2 separate regions of the Homo sapiens genome follow, and region 1 is linked to region 2. The links are contacts of gene promoters, found by promoter capture Hi-C in human tissues and cell types (Jung and others, 2019). All regions are on one chromosome and are shown on one strand. The core of a region is centred on a gene start or on the middle of the fragment in contact, and the rest is flanking DNA. Distances in the headings are between cores, read along the strand shown. Region 1 has its middle 98 kb from the start of NRG3. Region 2 holds the start of NRG3 (neuregulin 3).

Evidence for each region. The method cuts DNA at HindIII sites, captures the fragments that hold promoters and counts their contacts. A contact is called where the count stands out against the background at its distance.
Region 1: a fragment that was not itself captured here is called in contact with the fragment with the promoter of NRG3 in region 2 in 4 of the 25 tissues and cell types used here (adrenal gland, aorta, heart right ventricle and 1 more).

What each region holds. Positions count from the first base shown.
Region 1 is chr10:81,775,722-81,779,028 of GRCh38, reverse strand. No RefSeq gene overlaps it. Among named protein-coding and RNA genes, the nearest start is that of NRG3, 98 kb to the left of the region's middle. The HindIII fragment of the contact is 4,841 bases long and covers 1-3,307 here.
Region 2 is chr10:81,873,314-81,876,702 of GRCh38, reverse strand. NRG3 (neuregulin 3) reads right to left here and starts at 1,509. Exons shown (of 9, transcript NM_001010848.4): 1 at 540-1,509. The coding sequence starts at 1,362. It overlaps LOC124902549 (a long non-coding RNA gene), which reads left to right and starts at 2,185. Exons shown (of 2, transcript XR_007062377.1): 1 at 2,185-2,354; 2 at 3,202-3,331. RefSeq lists an enhancer at 1-560. The HindIII fragment of the contact is 10,350 bases long and covers 1-3,389 here.

The DNA of each region.
Region 1 (3,307 bases), core at 595-3,094, 98 kb after region 2:
ATACATACACTATGTCACTATAAAATGGGTCATCTCACTGTAATGAGATAATATTCTTTGCAACAGTCACCCCTGAGCTGTTCGTCAATCTTATTTATAAGCAGGTTTGACTGTACATATGGATCAAATCCCTAAGTTTGAATCTAGAAAGTATATCACCCATTCCATCCCCTCTGCAATAAATACAGTTTAAGACAGATGAATGTAAACAAACAAACAAAAAAACAAAACGACATCAGGCTTAACTGAGAATGCTTCTTTGAAAACAAAATAGTTACAGTAGTCCCCTCCTTTCCCTGGGGGGGATATGTCCCAAGACCCCTAGTGGATGCTTGCAACCAGAAATAATACTGAATCCTAAACCCTATATAAACTATGTTTTTTCTATATATACATACCTATGACAAAGTTTAATTTATAAACTGGCTCAGTAAGAGATAACAATTAATAATAAAATAGAACACTTATAACAATATATTGTTCACAATTTCATAGATAGAAGATTCATTATTACTATAGAGCTTAGTGACCTTAGCATATGGTCTTTTATTCTTTGCTTATTAAGTCAAGAACTTTCACCTTTCAACTTAAAGGAAGTACATTATAGCTTCTTTTTTGGCATAGCTGAGCTGCCAGCATCACTACTATTATACTTTGGGGCCACTATTAAGTAAAATAAGAGTTACTTGACCACAAGTATTGGGCTATCTGAACAGTCATTCTGGTAACCAAAAGGGCTAGTAAGTGACAAAGGGCAGGTGGTGTAGACAGCATGAAGTCACTGGACAAATAGTGACTCTACAAAGTAGACAGCATGTGATTTTGTCACAATACTCAGAATGGTGTGCAACTTATGAGTTGTTTATTTCAGGAAATTTCCATTTAATTAATTTCTACTTAATATTTTCAGACAGTAGTTGACCATGGGTAAGTGAAACTACAGACAGCAAAGCCCAGATAAAGGTGGACTACTGTTGAGTCATTCTGAATACATTAGCTAATAAACAATAAAATCACGATTCTGTGTGAAAAGCTGAAATTGGAAACCAATATTTTAATTTTCAAGTGTTATTCCACATTAGCAGAAGTTCTGTATGTTCTTATCACTGTATGATAAAAGCTTAGATTTAAGCTAAAATCACCACAGTAATTAAAATGCATGGTACATTTTGGGTTCATTTTGAATGAGTGAGATTTTCAACTAACCTGAAGCAAAACAAATCAATTAGGAAGCCATCTGGGCAAATTAAATCTCAGGAAATAGAAAATAAACATGTGAACCCTTAACACTGCCACGGCTTCTGATGGTTCTCAGAACGATCTACTGTCAGAGTTAGTAGATCTTTTACATAGATGAGTACTTCTCAACCCTGGATGAGTCTTATAACTCACCTGTACAAATTAGAATAAATACGAATGCCTAAACCCCTCCACAGATATTTTGATTTAATTGATATGTCATGGGGTCCAGGCACTGATATATTTAAAGTTCTTTAGGTGGTTTTATAAATTTCCATTTTCCCCATTATGCAGTAAGTAACAAATTACGTCTTCCATTTCCCTTGAATGTGGAAATTATGTTTACGAGTTCATTTACATGTTGTACATGGGCTACTAGAATACATTGATAAAATAACATGAAATATTTTCTTAATGTCTGTCTGTTATCAAAATGTTAACATTCTCAAGTATCCTCATGTACTAATAATGGGTGCATTCTTCCTTGGATTTTTCTCCTTAAAAATCTTATCTCAAAATCTACAAAATCAGAGAGAAGCATAAAAGAATTTTCACCAGTTAGATGCTTTTAGTGCTATGTTATAAAGTGATTAAATTTTTATAATAAGATTTGGGGCTTAGGACTCGAGCAGGACCTACTCTAATGAGCAGAAAGTGGGGGTTCAGTTGCCTGATAGTGGATCTAGGGTTGATGAAACATGGCAGGGAGTCATTAGGGACAGTAAATAAATTAGTGAATGGCTAAATGAATATTGGGCTTGAGATTTGATCAGAGGGGAAAACTTTGCTTAAGAAAGTTTGTATGTAGGATGTTTTTGGCGAGGACAAGGCTGAAATAGAGCTATGCCTCCACAGAGGTGTGGACTGATGGAATTGAAGACTTTTGTTGAGGAGACCCAGGAACTGTGAGATTGACAGTTAGCAGGGACACCCCCTTAATGACGTGGGTCACTTGGAAAAATAGCAGAGATCAAATGGGCTGGAAAGTAAGGGTGGGAGGCAGGTGCTAAAGTCCTTGAGGGACGTGAAGTAGTGTCCCAGGTGGTAGAACAGGGAAGTATAGAGAGAGTTGTGAGGAACATGGCGTGGGCTTTCAAAAGAGATGCCATTGAGCAGTGGCCTAAGGAGCCGCATTGCAGAGACAGAGAAGGACCCTTAAGCATCATGATGTAGTACATATGAAAAACAATCTGTAAACTAAAACACAAAGCATGGGTATTCTATAGACATTTGCTAAGGAGCCCATATTTGAGCTAATGTGAGCGAAATAAGTTTATTTCTTTATACACTGATACCAATGATTCTTTAAATAAGAATGACAGATAGTAAACTATTTTAATTAGGGAGCTTAGAGAAATATTATTTAGAAAACAGTGTACTTTTCCCTGATATATGGCATGGACAGGGAAAATCCACCTTTAATGTGAATATGGAGTGACATTTCTCATAAACTAGAAGTAGGAGTCTACGGATAAGTTCCAAGCGTGAGGCTGCAAGCCTTGAATGAATCATGTGATGGTGTACTGGGAAGAAAAAACAAAGAATGTGAGAGAGATACTGTTCAAATAGCCAAGAACAAGGCTGGCTAGATTTCATTCCTCTTTAGAAAAATTAGCTTTCGTTTTCAAACAGTGATTTGAGACTGTTCAATTTCTTTCCAAAATTGTTACTGAGCCTATATTATAAAAATCTAAGACGTTTGTTTTACTTATTCTCCTTTTTCTTTGTCCTTTTTTTTTCCTGTGTGCATGCTTGCTTGCACATATTCATTTCAGTAGAGAGTAGTCACGAATAATTGGCCAATATCCTAACCCCTAGTGGCTACCTGAAAAAGTAATGCACTTGGTTTTCTTTCAAAGAACAATGATTCTTAGGTCATGGAGACTTTTTGATGCTGTCCAGAAGTTTGACTGGACCAAGAGACACAGCAGATTTGATCCTCAGGGCATCTCACCTCCCACTACCTACCTTACTCATAAGAGCTGCCAGTTATATTCAAAGGCATGCTGGATTTGACAAATTTGTCTCTCCCACCCTCACACTTTAGCCAAATCAAACCTTTCTCTGC
Region 2 (3,389 bases), core at 260-2,759:
GGAAGCGTCCTCAGCAACATTCTACCATTATCTCCATCAACTCGTCACCCCACACAAGGACATAACTTCCTTTTGTGGTTTATCGTCGGTCAATTTGCATGTGCTTTGCTTTCTTTCCTTCCTACCGGCGGGCGGAGAAGGGGCTCAGTGCCTTCGGGAAGGCCCTCTCTCCCTCCCTGGCCCTCTACTGGAGCGGGATCCGGCAGCTCGCCAGCAGGTCTGCAGTGAGGAGGGATCGCACTCGCGTTAACCCTTTGAAGGGAGTTGGGAGATCTGTTCTCACTTGGGACCCGCTAAAGTGGGGCCAGTGGAGCCTGACAATCTCCCTCCCGTTCCTACACGCCCCCACCCCCCCAGAACCAGAGCAGGCTGGCACCTTCTTCCCCGCTGGTGGCCAGTTTTAATCAGCTCTCACTCTGCCCCAAACCTGGGATGGGGGAGGGGGCTTGCTAGAAAACAGGCGGCGAGGGAAAAAGACAGCAGGAGGGCAGAAGGGAAACTCAGTAGTAAATCATAGTTGAGACACAGTGTTTACTTACGAAATTTGGGGCTGGTGCTAGTTTCTGGTGTGGTGGTGGTAGCGGAGGAGGAAGAAGAGGAAGAAGAGGAGGCAGCATCCTGAAAGGGAGACAGGGTCCAGGAGGGAGTAGAATCGTGAAGGTAGGAGGAGGTAGCGTATGCCGCAGTAGGCCAGGAGGGCATTGCCTGGGTACTTGGAGTTCCTGGCACCGGGGGTCGGGAGCCCAGCGTGCTGCTACTGAAGAACGGGGCCGTGGTGGACGGGACCGTCGCAGGGGCCGCAGTGTTCCGTGCTGTGGTGGAGCGCGGGCTGGCCCGGATGGGCACCCGGTGCCCGGGGAAGCGAGTGGGCGCCCGCGTGATGGTGGTCAGGCGAGTGCTAATCCGGTTGGGCGTCCTGGAGGAGGCGGCACCCCCGGCGGAGGGGGTGGCGGGGGACGTGGTGGAAGTGGTAGTGGTGGTGGTCTCCATGGCCTTGGGGAAAGAGCTGGGCTTGGAGAGGAAGAAGGGGTCCTGGCCCATCCCCTTGGAGTCCACTAGGTCGGTGGGCACGTACTCCTTGACGGAGCCCACCACGATCCATTTGAGAAGCATGAGGCTGAGCCCCAGGCCGATGAAGCCGATGAACAGAGGTACCACGCACAGCCACGTCTGCTGCCGGTTCCACACGATGCAGTCGCTACAGCGTAACTCCCGGGGGGGCTCGGCCGCCCCTTCGCCGCCGCCGTCCGGGCCCCCGCCCGCCGCTGCCGCCGCCGCAGCCGCCGCGGTGCCCTCCTCGGCCGAGGCGGCGGCTGCCGAAGCGGCACCAGGTGGCGAGGCAGCGGCCGCCCCTTCACTCATCCTAGGAGCCGGTCTTCACCTTCGCCCCCCCGAGGGCCGCGGCAGAGGCATGGGGCCGCGCGGGCCGGGCGCGGGCGCGGGCGCGGGCTCCGGCGGCGGCGGCGGGCTCGGGCGCAGGCAGCGGCCGCGGCGGCCGCATGCAAATCCGCTCCCTGCCCCCACGCCCCTCCCCCCGAGAGGCGGGCGGCGGGCGGGGAGGAGAGGAGCGGGGGAGGGGACGGGGCCGGGGAGGGGGCGGTAAGGAGCTCGGAAGAGGGGCGAGACGGGCCCCCGGCGCCTCCGGTCGGTCAGAGAGCGGCGGGGCGCGTCTGCAGCCCTCCAAGCCGCCTCCTGCGCGCCGGGTCCCCGCGCCCGCTGCTGCTGCTGCTGCCCGCCGCCTGCGTGCGCTCCAGGAGCGCCGACATCCTCGGGGCACCGCGCCCAGCCCGCTCCCTGGGGCGCCCGCTCGCGCCGCGCCTGGGCCTCGCGCCGCCTTCAGTGGCCCCGGCGGCCGGTCGCGGGGTGCCGGGTGCCCGCCACCCGCATTCCGACACAGAGGGCCTGCCTGGCCGCCGCGATCTTCGGCGGCTGCTCCGCGAGCCCGGGCGGTGAGGTGCACCTGTTCTTCAGCCGGCCCGCAGCCAACCCTCGGCCAGCACTCTTCTGGAGAGACCAATCCCAGCGCAGCGCGGAGGGCTAGCGGCCCGGCTCGCCTTGCTCCAGCCGTTCGCTGCTGCGCGCCGCTGCCGCCGCCGCCGGAGAGTCAAACTCCAGCGAACAGCGCCGCTGTCGCCGCCGCGAGCCAGGGGCTGGGGGCGCACCGGGCGCCCGCGGCGGGTGCGGTCTGACCCGCCTCCGAGGGACCCAACAAGCAGGCAGAGGATCGGAAATCACGCCCCGGCGCCCTGCCCGGTTGAGCGTGGGGGACGGAAGCGGGAGACTGCGTCGGGGGTCCCGGGGAACGCAGACCCCGGGCTGAGGGCGTCTCCAGACGGGCTCTGGCTGCCAGGCTGGTGCGTGTGTGTGTGCAGAATCGCCGCGGCGGGCTGGGATTCGGGCAGAGTAGCGCCTCCCACTAGCAGCTAATGCTGGTTTCTTAATGCACACAAGATAGATAAATGATCCAAGCAAACCCCCGTTTGCGGTGGGGTGGGGGGGCAAAAGCAGCTTCCGACCGATTGTGAGTCGTCTCCTGTACGGATCCAGTGGGGTCAGAGACTGACGCTGCTGGGCGAGGGGGCGGGGGCGGATGCGGGTGGGAGGGTGCCTGTGCCCTCCCCTGCCGGATGGCGGTGCGGCTGGATGGAAGGCCACCTTTGCCTGAGTTCCTGAGAGATGCAGGTGGAGCAGAAGACCTTTGTATAATCAGACCTGTCAGATATCTCCAAGCCATTTATGTGAACTTGCCTTAAAATATTGTCTTTACCTGTAAATGTACGCACAGGTACACACGTTACAAGGCAAGTGTTTGTGAGAGGTAAATATGAAAGGATTTGGGGTTGGACTCCCAAATTCCGTTACTGCTTTCTTCCCTTGGCTGGGGAGGCACCTGTGTACCTATTTCTCCAGCGCTGTGTGGTACCTGCCGAGGCAAGGGGCAAAGAGCCAGTGTTAGCATGACATATGCCGACAGTGCAAAACCTTGCTTGCCAACTCTCCCCAGATTTCCTGGTCTAAAGTGAAAACCGAAGAGGAGGGGTTTTTATTTACAAGCGTTAAGAATATGAGGTTGAGAAAGGCAACTTTCTAATACATTCCCCCAGCACTGTCTGATTGGCGTGGATGATGGAGCCCGCATTCTCTTGTCCTGTGATAGTCTCCACAAAGATGAAGTTTTCAAGGTATCCATTTTATTCACAGGGGGAGAGCCAAACGTTACACTGAAGAGACTGCAGAGAGCAGAGGATGCATTGAAACAGGAAGCCCCTGGGGTTTGGTGCCTACCAGAGTACTTTGCACAGACAAGGTTAATAAATTATTTTTGATGGCAGTAATGCGGCTGTCACCTCTTTCAGCTATAACATTGAGACTTTCCCCATAGGAAAGCT